4 separate regions of the Homo sapiens genome follow, and regions 2, 3 and 4 are each linked to region 1. Evidence: promoter capture Hi-C in 16 types of primary human blood cells and fetal thymus (Javierre and others, 2016). All regions are on one chromosome and are shown on one strand. Each heading gives the region's core, a stretch centred on a gene start or on the middle of the fragment in contact. The rest is flanking DNA. Distances are from core to core; before and after follow the strand shown. Region 1 holds the start of TIMELESS (timeless circadian regulator). Region 2 overlaps ANKRD52 (ankyrin repeat domain 52). Region 3 overlaps CNPY2 (canopy FGF signaling regulator 2). Region 4 overlaps LOC107984468 (a long non-coding RNA gene).

Region 1 (2,700 bases), core at 31-2,530:
ACCGAAGAATTGGGGGGAAGTTAATGGGAATATATAGCCTACTTATCTTAGGGATGCTTGCCCCAGGGACTTGGGTGGGGAAGTAGCTCTGAGAAAAGTGAACACTAGGATTTAGCTGTTCTGTAAAGCCACGTAAACCTGTCTACATCCGCTGGCTGGTTGTGTTCATTCTGACATAATGGATCTCTTCAGAGGTCCTGGGCCAAAGAGCTTCCAACCTAAATAGAGCTTGGGCAAGCCTAGAATCTAGAAAAATTAAGCAGCTTAACTGGTCAGCCTGACATCCACTGTTGTGGCTGCCTGGCAGATGGTATTTAAGCCCCACAATTGTTCCCTAAGGCCAACACAGGAAATCTGATTCCTGGAGCAAATAAATGAACGGGTGGTAGTAGGGGGCATGAGGGGAGAGGCTTTGACTCTGTTCTAATTTATTTAGAGCAAATCAAAACACTCCTCAAATGGCATCTTTCTGCTTTTATCACTAGTTCCGTGTTTTTTTTCTTGTTTTGTGTCTGTGTATTTTCATTTCTCTGTCATCCGTCCTTTCATCTTGAAGCAAATCTCTTCTAACTCCCTCATACCCCAGAAATTGATTCCTTCTATTCAAATGCTTAATAATTCAGGAGATTATTATTTGTTTGAGCCCTATCTTCTTTTTTTTTTTGAGAGGGGGTCTTACTATGTTGACCAGGTTGGAGTGCAATGGATATTCACAGGCACGATCATCGCACACTACAGTCTAGAAATCCTGGGCTCAAGCGATCTTCCTGCTTCAGCCTCCCCAGTAGCTGGGATTACAGGGGGCCAGAGCACAGCCCTATTTTCTTTTCCTTTTGGCAAGATCATCTCAGCAGAGGCCAGAAGAGACCCTCAACTGTTCAATGAATATTTACGGTTGCTTTCTTCCTTTTATGAGCCTCTTGCATACTTTGAAAGCTTTAAATTTATACCTATAATACAACGGACATCCCCTATCCCAGAAGACCATTCCTCCCTGTACTTCAGCTCTTTACTTCCTCCCAAATAAAACCTAACTTTTCTAACTAACTATTTAAGACTTGGAATAGTCCGCTTGACTAGAAGAAGGGGAAGAATGTTTGTAAATTCACCTCTAATCGGACTTTGATTCTACTATAATTCAGCAGAAAATTCATAGCGCTGTGATTTTTAGATCGACCTCACATAAAACAGTCCCTGCACTCGCTTCCCTTTTCCTTCCTTCTTCACCAATCTCCGCCCCAGTTCGCTCGGAGTCACGTGGACCAGCCCGGCTCGCCCCGCCTCGCTCTTCGCGCAGGCGGGGACCGGTCCAGCTGAGCCTGGTGGCGGAAAGGCTGCGGCCCCGCGCCAGAGGGCCGGTGGCTCCTCCGGGCTTCTGAGGACCCGCAGGGAGCGGGTGAGTGAGTGTGTGGCGAGAGGGCGCTAAGCGGACACGGGGATCCTTTCGAAGCTATGGGGGCATTCTCGGGAAACGCTGAGTCCCTTTTCCCGCCACCCGGTTTAGAGCCAGGGGGCGGGGCTCGTGCTGCAGGCGCGCACGCGCAATTCTGTACTCTGCTCCTTAGTCTCCCGCGCCGCGTTCCCGGGTCTCACCGGACGCGGGCTTAGCCCTACGCTGCTCCGCACAGCTTGGGTCTCCCGCGGGATGGGGTTGTGATGGAAAGGGGCTTGGAATTCCTGAATTAGAACAGAAAGTGCCTGAGGGAGTTCCACTTCGGAGCTTAGCATCTAGTTGAGACCTCCTGAAAAAAACCGGTGTGTGGCCTGGCGGTCAGCAGTGGTCGGAATTCACAGGCCGCTTTACTTATATCGTGGGTTTTATGGAACGGATTTCTCACTCCCTCCCTTCGTTGCCTTGTTCGGGTTTGTCACCTGGACCTCAGCCGCTAATGAAGCTTTTTTCCTTGAGCCTCTCAATTCTTTGCCATTCGTGCTTCGACTAGTACTTTCAATTTTTTATTTATTTTATTTTATTTTGAGACGGAGTCTCGTTCTGTCGCCCAGGATGGAGTGCAGTGGCGCCATCTCGGCTCACTGCAACCTCCGCCTCCCGGGTTCAAGCGATTCTCTTGCCTCAGCTTCCTGAGTAGCTGGGATTACAGGCGCGCGCCACCATGCCCGGCTAATTTTTGTATTTTTTTTAGTAGAGATGGGGGTTTCACCTTATTGGTCAGGATGATCTCAAACTCCTGACTTCGTGATCCGCCCGCCTCGGCCTCCCAAAGTGCTGGGATTATAGGCGTGAGCCACCGCGCCTGGCCTGTTTGTTTTTTTTGGTTGTTTTGTTTTGTTTTGTTTTTGAGATGGAGTCTGGCTCTGTCGCCCAGGCTGGAGTGCAGTGGTCCGATCTCGGCTCACTGCAACCTCCGCCTCCCCAGTTCAAGCGATTCTCCTGCCTCAGCCTCCCCAGGAGCTGGGATTACAGCTGCCCGCCACCACGCCCGGCTAATTTTTGTATTTTTAGTAGAGATGGGGTTTCACCATGTTGGCCAGGCCGGTCTCGAACTCCTGACCTCAAATGATCCGCCCGCGTCGGCCTCCCACAGTGCTGGGATTACGGGTGTGAGCCACCACACCCGGCCCTACTAGTACTTTGTACAAAGTAAAGGTAGATCATCTGATGTTAAATTTAAAACTCCTCTTTGACCACCCACAGTTAGCCTTAAATCCGTAGGTGGGTGTCTGTGGCCTCTCAGTCTG
Region 2 (2,700 bases), core at 196-2,695, 200 kb after region 1:
CTGGGAGACTTTGTGCTCTCATCCCCTCCTCCCCCAAGGAACTCATTTCTAGAATCTAGGGAGGTTCCTAACTTCCTTCTCCTGCCCTCTTCCAGTAGGATAGGCCCTTGGAACTCTGACCAAGGGACCTGTGGAAATGGCCCTGCTCTGCCCTGCCCAGTCTCCTAAGGCCTAGAAACAGGATAAAATATGTAGAATCCTGGGCCTGGCACCTGATGCATACATAGTAGGCACTCAAATCATGGCTAGCTCGCGAAAGTGGTCTTAAGCCTGAGGTCTGCCTGAGCTTGTGTGTGTGCATCCCCTCACAGGCAGCGAGATTGATTGTGCCGACAAATTTGGGAACACGCCACTGCATGTGGCTGCTCGATATGGACACGAGCTGCTCATCAGCACCCTCATGACCAATGGCGCAGATACCGCCCGGTGAGTCAGGGCCCCGACTCCACTTCTGGGCTGCCCAGATCTGCACAGACTGCTCACATCAACCATGGAGGCACAGATAAGCTTGCCAAAGGGCACCTTGGAGAACCTCCTACCCTGACTCTAGGGTGGTGGTAGGTCACAGAAGAGGTCTTACTTGGTCCCTCCTTGACCCAAGGACTGAGTCCCTCAACTTCTCTCTAGGCGTGGCATCCATGACATGTTCCCCCTGCACTTAGCTGTTCTCTTTGGATTCTCTGACTGTTGTCGTAAGCTTCTTTCCTCAGGTATGTGCTGATGGGCTGGGGATTGGCAGGTGTATAGGAGAGCAAAGGCCTTTCCCTCCCTGCTGAACACTCTCAGATGTGACCTGTGGCTGTTCTGTGCCTCCAGGTCAGTTGTACAGCATTGTGTCTTCACTCAGCAATGAGCATGTGCTTTCAGCTGGGTTTGACATCAATACACCTGACAACCTTGGCCGTACCTGTCTTCATGCTGCTGCTTCCGGAGGGTGAGTTCTCTTTCTCTCTCCCATGCTTTGAGCAGGGAGCTGGGCAAAGGTCTGGGCCCCTCATTCTTGCCTGCCCAGATCTATTCCCCCTCTCACAATGAAAGCAGTCACAGCAGAAAGGGCTTGCTAGTCCCATCCTTCCTTAGCCCCACCCTGGGCCTGTGGCTTCCCTTTGAGGCTGTAACTCTCTTAACACATCTTTCTTTTAGGAATGTTGAATGTCTTAATTTGCTGTTGAGCAGTGGAGCTGACTTGAGGAGGAGGGACAAATTTGGCAGGTATGCTAATATGCAGGGGTAAACATAGGGAATATCTGATTAGAGAAACAAATGGTAGAGGGAGGAAGGGTTTAGATTGGAGACTTAAATAAGGAGAATGTTACAAAGCAGCATTTGGCTGCACATCTGATTGCATTCGTATCTGTCTCTGATTCTCTTCCCCACCCTCCTTCACTTCTTCCCCAGGACCCCACTGCACTATGCAGCTGCTAACGGTAGCTACCAGTGTGCAGTAACATTGGTGACTGCTGGGGCAGGTGTCAACGAGGCCGACTGTAAAGGCTGCTCTCCCCTCCACTACGCTGCCGCTTCTGACACTTACAGGAGGTGAGGCTACCAGTCTGGTCCTTCTCAGCCCCATTCACCTCCCTGAGCCTGGCCCTAACTTTCTCTCTCTCTTCCCCAGAGCGGAACCCCATACACCTTCCAGCCATGATGCCGAAGAGGACGAGCCACTGAAGGAGTCCCGCAGGAAGGAGGCCTTCTTGTGAGTAGCAGAGAGGGCCCCTGGGATGTGCTTTCCCCAACCCATGCAAGCTCTGGCCCTACTGTCCTCCTACCTAATCTGAACCTCTACCCTATACTGCTGCTGTCCTGCCGGTCAGCCAGCAGTGTGTCTTGAGCCCTCTGGGTGTAGTCCATAGTGGGCAAAGACAAAAGTATGAGATTGAAGCTCAGGAGCTTCAGGGGGAAAAAAAAACCCAAAAGTATGAGACATAGTTCCTTCCCTAAAGGAATGGATTTTTTTTTTTTTTTTTTTTTTGGAGACAGAGTCTCACTCTGTTGCCCAGGCTGGAATGCAGTGGTGTGATCTCAGCTCACCGCGCCCGGCTGGTCTTCTTGAGAGGATTAGAAAAGCTAAATGTACAAAATAATTTGTTTATTCCACAAGCATTAATTAAATATTTACTTACTAGGTTCCAAGTACTGTGCTAGATACTAAGGATAAAAGATGAGGCTGGGCGTAGTGGCTCAAGCTTGTAATCCTAGCACTTAGGGAGGCTGAGGTAGGCAGATCACCTGAGGTTAGGAGTTCAAGACCAGCTTGACCAACATGGTGAAACCCCGTCTCTACTAAAAATACAAAAAATTAACCAGGTGTGGTGGCACACGCCTATAATCCCAGCTACTCAGGAGGCCGAGGCAGGAGAATTGCTTGAACCAGGGAGGTGGAGGTTGTAGTGAGCCGAGATCACGCCACTGCACTCCAGCCTGGGCAACCGAACAAGACTCTGTCTCAAAAAAATTAAAATTAAAAATAGGCCGGGTGTGGTGGTTCACGCCTATAATCCCAGCACTTTGGGAGGCCGAGGCAGGCAGATCATCTGAGGTCAGGAGTTCGAGACCAGCCTGGCCAACGTGGTGAAACCCCGTCTCTACTAAAAATATAAAAATTAGCTGGTCATGTTGGCAGGCACCTGTAATCCCAGCTACTCGGGTGGCTAAGGCAGGAGAATCACTTGAACCAGGGAGGTGGAGGTTGCAGTG
Region 3 (2,700 bases), core at 166-2,665, 140 kb after region 1:
AAGGATATAAATTACTAATGTACAGAGGTAGAAGAGAGTGACCCAAGGCTGAGGACATTTCTAGGTGCCTTATGCCCGCTCAGAGGCCCACCTCACAGAGCTGCTGGAGGAGATATGTGACCGGATGAAGGAGTATGGGGAACAGATTGATCCTTCCACCCATCGCAAGAACTACGTACGTGTAGTGGGCCGGAATGGAGAATCCAGTGAACTGGACCTACAAGGCATCCGAATCGACTCAGATATTAGCGGCACCCTCAAGTTTGCGGTGAGCTATGGGAATCGGTAGCTGGTTCTTGGACATTAAGGGGTTGTTGGAGAACCAATTAGAAAGTTAGGCTGATATCCTTGTCCTCCTCTTTGGAAGTGAAGGCAAGAGGCCTCTTATTGCCCTGTGTCACCCATTTCTCCCTTGGGTTGGCAGTGTGAGAGCATTGTGGAGGAATACGAGGATGAACTCATTGAATTCTTTTCCCGAGAGGCTGACAATGTTAAAGACAAACTTTGCAGTAAGCGAACAGGTAAGCTGCCCCCACTTTATCTCCTGTTCTAGTAGCTCTGTGGAACCTGACATTCCCTAACTCACCCATACACCCCCATCCCAGAAACCTCTGGTATTAGGTCAAGAGCTGTCTTCCATTTCCCTTGGCTTAGGGACTTGGGGTGTTCCTCCACATTTTCTGTCAGCTTTCAGAATTTGTGTCCCCTTGACCCTGAGATACAGGTGAGAGGACAGTGGGGATGTTTTATCATTTATAAGCATATATTCTGCAGAATGGTGGTTGGTGTGTGTTTGTGTCAGCTTGGTCTGGGAAATTTTCTTGATACTGGCAGATATCAGTATGAGAATGGCATATTCCTTTAAATTGTTTGCCATTTGCAGATCTTTGTGACCATGCCCTGCACATATCGCATGATGAGCTATGAACCACTGGAGCAGCCCACACTGGCTTGATGGATCACCCCCAGGAGGGGAAAATGGTGGCAATGCCTTTTATATATTATGTTTTTACTGAAATTAACTGAAAAAATATGAAACCAAAAGTACAAACTGTGTTGTCTTTTCATGCCTGGAATTGCCCTTACATTAAGCTTGAAGATAAGGAGTTATATAGACAGGAAAGATAATGGAGGAGAAAGAAGAGTTTTGGGATTGATACAGGATAAAGGTAGGAGAGGCCTGAACCTTTAATTCTTCTACCTTCTGAGATTCCACTCCACTCATAAACTAGATAAGCTTTCAGTCAGTGCCCACTCAATACCACGTCTTTAGAGTCTAATTGTGGAGAATAGAGGAACCTCCATGAGGAAGCAGGGGAACATAGTGTATGGTAGTGTAGAATTCTAGAAATCCCTTGTGTTCATGGCTGTTGAAACATAAAGTAAGACAGGGCTTGGTCTTGAAGGAAATAACGGATATGCATTATTCTTCCTTCCCTGCCCATCCAGATGGAGGGACCAGCAAGAACAGAGACAGGAAGGGGAAAATGGATGTGACCAACTCAGCTGAAAAGTAAGGGCTTTATCGGATAGGGACAGACGAGGTAAGGAAGGTTGTTTAATGAGAGGCCTTGCTTGCCAGCCTAAGCTTTTAAATTTGATGCCAGTGGCAACAATAAAGTGTATCTATCACTAGCCATTGTCAATCTGGACTATAAGTCTGTCCACAATTCTGTGTGTAGAGATTCCAGACTGGGGCATAGGGATGAAAACCTAAAGGATACCTTCTTTTGGGAAATTCTTTTTTTCTTTTTTTTTCTGAGATGGAGTCCCGCTCTGTCGCCTAGGCTGGAGTACAGTGGCGCGATCTCGGCTCACTACAAGCTCTGCCTCCCAGGTTCACGCCATTATCCTGACTCAGCCTCCCGAGTAGCTGGGACTACAGGCGCCCGCCACCACACCGGCTAATTTTTTTTTTTTTTTTTTTGTGAGACAGAGTCTCGCTCTATCGCCCAGGCTGGAGTACAGTGGCGCGATCTCGGCTTACTGCAAGCTTCGCCTCCCGGGTTCACACCATTCTCCTGCCTCAGCCTCCCAAGTAGCTGGGACTATAGGCACCCGCCACCACGCCCGGCTAATTTTTTGTATTTTTAGTAGAGACGGGGTTTCACCATGTTAGCCAGGATGGTCTCGATCTCCTGACTTCGTGATCCGCCCGCCTTGGCCTCCCAAACTGCTGGGATTACAGGCGTGAGCCACCGCGCCCGGCCTGCACTGGCTAATTTTTTTGTATTTTTAGTAGAGGCAGGGTTTCACCGTGTTAGCCAGGATGGTCTCGATCTCCTGACCTCATGATCCGCCCGCCTTGGCCTCCCCAAATGCTGGGATTACTGGTGTGAGCCACCGCACCTGGCAGAAAATTCTTAAGCACTCTGAGCTTGAGGTATGGTTGTCTCAGGGTTTCAAATGGAATATCTCCGGTCCCAAGAACACCTCAAGGAGAGAAGACCTGAATAAACATTTCAAAGGTTTTAAAAATTACATCATTTTAGAATCTAAAGGAACCTTAGAGGTCGTCTGGTTCACCTCTGCCCATTTTATTGATGAAGAAGCTGAGGCCCAGAGAAGCCATAGAACTTTATGAAGTTCTGTATTTAATGGCAAAACTGGGTCTATAAGCTAACTTTCCCAAGTGCTGACCTGATCTAATATAGCTATAGAGTACCTTCTATTTTAAGTCTTTTTTCTCTAATAATACCT
Region 4 (2,700 bases), core at 189-2,688, 260 kb after region 1:
CTCCTGACCTCAGGTGATCCACCCGCCTCGGCCTCCCAAAGTGCTGGAATTACAGGCGTGAGCCACCGTGTCCAGGCAAAATAATAATACTTTTAAGATCTAAGAATTTATTGCTGAAAAGATCATTATATGGTGAGACTACCTAGTTAGTAAAGAGAAGGAACTTCATGAGGGATGGCAGGGGTTGGGCTGTCACACGGAGATGACCAGCCAGATTAGATGGAAGGTATCTTAGTGGAAAGATGTAAGGGTAAGAAAAACGGGCAATTTAGGCAGGGTATGTTGATAATAGGATCATGTGTTTGTTTAGATGGGGAACTGAGTTCCTGGACAGGGGAATAATATGATGAAAGCAGTGTAATCACACTAATATAGGGTGGATTTCAGTGTGGTGAAACTAGGGCACCTTGAAGGCCATCGTAACAGGCATGAATTAAGATGATGTGCTTGGGGAAGCAACTGATGAATCAGTGTGATGGGCTTGGGAGAAAACAAACTTCAGATAATTAATTCTTAGAGCTGGAAATGAAGGAATTGAGTGAATAGTGGTATCAACAAAAGTGGGAAAAGTTCAGAACGATGATTGTGAGAGAGGAAGAGAAGCTTTGTTTGCATATTAGGTGACACTAGGTCAGCTGTGCAGAGATGTGAACAGCTGGAGATAAAGGACCATGGTTTAGCTGAGGACATACCTGGAAAGGTGGCTCTGAGATTTTGTCTCGGGAGAATGAAGCTTTGGTGGAAATTCCACAGGAGGAAGAAGAAAGCAAATGAGGTGGAGAAGCAGTATACTGAGAAGGAGAAAAACAATAAGTGTTTCTGAAGGCCAGTAAGAAATCAATGTTGTTTCAAACACAGAAAGGATGGAGACTGAGAAGAGATTATTAAATTTGTCCAGTGGTTTCTATTAACGTCTAAAAAACTTCAGGAGGCCGGGCGCGGTGGCTCACACCTGTAATCTCAGCACTTGGGGAGGCTGAGGCAGGTGGATCACTTGAGGTCAGGAGTTCAAAACCAGCCTGGTCAACATAGCAAAACCCCGTCCCTACTAAAAATACAAAAAAAAAAAATTAGCCAGGCGCATGGTGACAGGGACCTGTAATACCAGCTACTTGGGAGGCTGAGGCAGGAGAATTGCTTGAACCTGGGAGGTGGTGGTTGCAGTGAGCCGAGCTTGTGCCACTGCACTCCAGCCTAGGTGAGAGAGCAAGACTCTGTCTCAAAAAAAAATAAAAAGTAAAAAAGTAAAAAAGAAAAAAAAACCAAAACACTTCAGGAGGCAGAAACCAGATGACGGGGTATCTGATAGTATGGAACTGGAGGCAGAAAGGTATACATTTTATTCGAAAAATAAAAGGAAGTAGAAAACAATGTGGAAATTTGAAAGTGTCAAATGAAGGTGGGGTTTTGTTTGTACTGAATTCATGAAGGATTGATCCAGTGGAGTAGAGGAATTTTAAGGTGTTATGGAAGGATATTTATGGAAGGTTCCTTAGGAGGTTTAAATGAGTGGGACTACAGGCTTAAGTGGAGAAGGTTACTTCAGGGAAAATATGGAAGGCCACATACTGTAGCAGGAACTAAAGAATGCCAGTGGGTGATATGTAAATATGTAAGAATGGTGAGAGAGAGGGGGCCAGATCATGCAAGGTAAAGAAAGGTAAAAGAATAGTTAGGATTTGTTGGAGTGGAAGAGGAAGGGTGAAGGAATTGGGGAGATGGGGTGGGTACATGGGGATGGTAGAAATTTAAAATGATCTATTGTATATGAAGGTTTGAAGCCTCGGCCTCTCACCCACAAAAGTTACAAGAGAAGCATTTGAGAGTAAAAGGGATGAACTTCAAGTAGCAAACTACCTCTGCCATATTTCCCTTCTTGGTCCAGATCCTCCATTTTGTAAACCATGGAGCCTTCTTCCCTTCACAACATAGTTGTTGGTTGCCCTCTGCTGGTCAATTCTGGTCTTGGCTCTCCAGATATTTAAATATGAGAACCTGTGCAAATTGGGATTTGGTAGGAAGGAGAATCATGAGCCTATGAGATTTTATAAATTCATTCAACACATAGTTGATCACATCTATAAGGCCTTGTAGAGAAGATACAAATAAATAAAATACACAGCCCTAACTCTCAAGAAGCTTATATACCAGTCTAAAGATTAAAACATGTACACATAACTACTGTAAAAAACACCCATTTATGCAAAAAAATTTTAAAAACTGACTCCTTATCTGTGTTTAATGTGTTTATATGCCACAGGGGAAGAAAGACTTCACATAATAAGTTGAGAGCATAGGATGTGGTAGGCAACAAGTGGTCAGAGAAAACTCCACAGGAGAACCAACATTTAGGTGGAGAATGAGTAGAAAGTGTGGAAGAGAAAGATTATTCCAGGCAGAGAACACCATGAGCAAGGCTAAATAACTACCAGGAAGAACTAAAAGAATGCCAGTGGACAGAATGTAGTGAATATGGAAGAGTGGTGAGAGAAAAGGGGTCATATCCTGCAACACAGAAAGCAGCCATAGAAGGGTTTAAGGTCCCGGACTGCAGTGTGGATGCTTTAGTGCAGTTTTCTATATATTACCTCGTATGGTGCTCACAAATACCACTACCTTCCAAATGAAGGCTCTAGCTCAGCCTGCACTCACCCCTGAGAAAAGTGAGCATATTTGAGACATATTTAGAAGGTAAAATAA

Evidence for each region. The method cuts DNA at HindIII sites, captures the fragments that hold promoters and counts their contacts. A CHiCAGO score of 5 or more calls a contact.
Region 2: a contact is called between a fragment that was not itself captured here and the fragment with the promoter of TIMELESS in region 1, in 9 of 17 cell types (naive CD4 T cells, M2 macrophages, M1 macrophages and 6 more). The highest score is 8.5, in naive CD4 T cells.
Region 3: a fragment that was not itself captured here is called in contact with the fragment with the promoter of TIMELESS in region 1 in 12 of 17 cell types (endothelial precursors, M1 macrophages, naive B cells and 9 more); the score reaches 11.8 in endothelial precursors.
Region 4: a contact is called between a fragment that was not itself captured here and the fragment with the promoter of TIMELESS in region 1, in 17 of 17 cell types (total CD8 T cells, naive B cells, naive CD8 T cells and 14 more). The highest score is 14.1, in total CD8 T cells.

What each region holds. Positions count from the first base shown.
Region 1 is chr12:56,448,006-56,450,705 of GRCh38, reverse strand. It overlaps TIMELESS (timeless circadian regulator), which reads left to right and starts at 1,280. Exons shown (of 29, transcript NM_003920.5): 1 at 1,280-1,396. It overlaps MIP (major intrinsic protein of lens fiber), which reads left to right. Exons shown (of 4, transcript NM_012064.4): 4 at 1-1,204. RefSeq lists enhancers at 1,537-1,626, 1,737-1,856, 1,879-2,399. The HindIII fragment of the contact is 959 bases long and covers 939-1,897 here.
Region 2 is chr12:56,251,014-56,253,713 of GRCh38, reverse strand. It overlaps ANKRD52 (ankyrin repeat domain 52), which reads left to right. Exons shown (of 28, transcript NM_173595.4): 10 at 312-426; 11 at 628-710; 12 at 817-934; 13 at 1,144-1,212; 14 at 1,399-1,539; 15 at 1,619-1,699. Among named protein-coding and RNA genes, the nearest start is that of ANKRD52, 6.0 kb to the left of the region's middle. The HindIII fragment of the contact is 1,492 bases long and covers 700-2,191 here.
Region 3 is chr12:56,308,779-56,311,478 of GRCh38, reverse strand. It overlaps CNPY2 (canopy FGF signaling regulator 2), which reads left to right. Exons shown (of 6, transcript NM_014255.7): 4 at 65-268; 5 at 425-521; 6 at 884-1,635. The coding sequence ends at 927. It overlaps CNPY2-AS1 (CNPY2 antisense RNA 1), which reads right to left and starts at 65. Exons shown (of 2, transcript XR_002957416.2): 1 at 1-65. The HindIII fragment of the contact is 351 bases long and covers 1,240-1,590 here.
Region 4 is chr12:56,192,388-56,195,087 of GRCh38, reverse strand. LOC107984468 (a long non-coding RNA gene) reads right to left here. Exons shown (of 2, transcript XR_007063330.1): 2 at 71-1,995. Among named protein-coding and RNA genes, the nearest start is that of TRS-CGA4-1, 3.4 kb to the right of the region's middle. The HindIII fragment of the contact is 1,406 bases long and covers 736-2,141 here.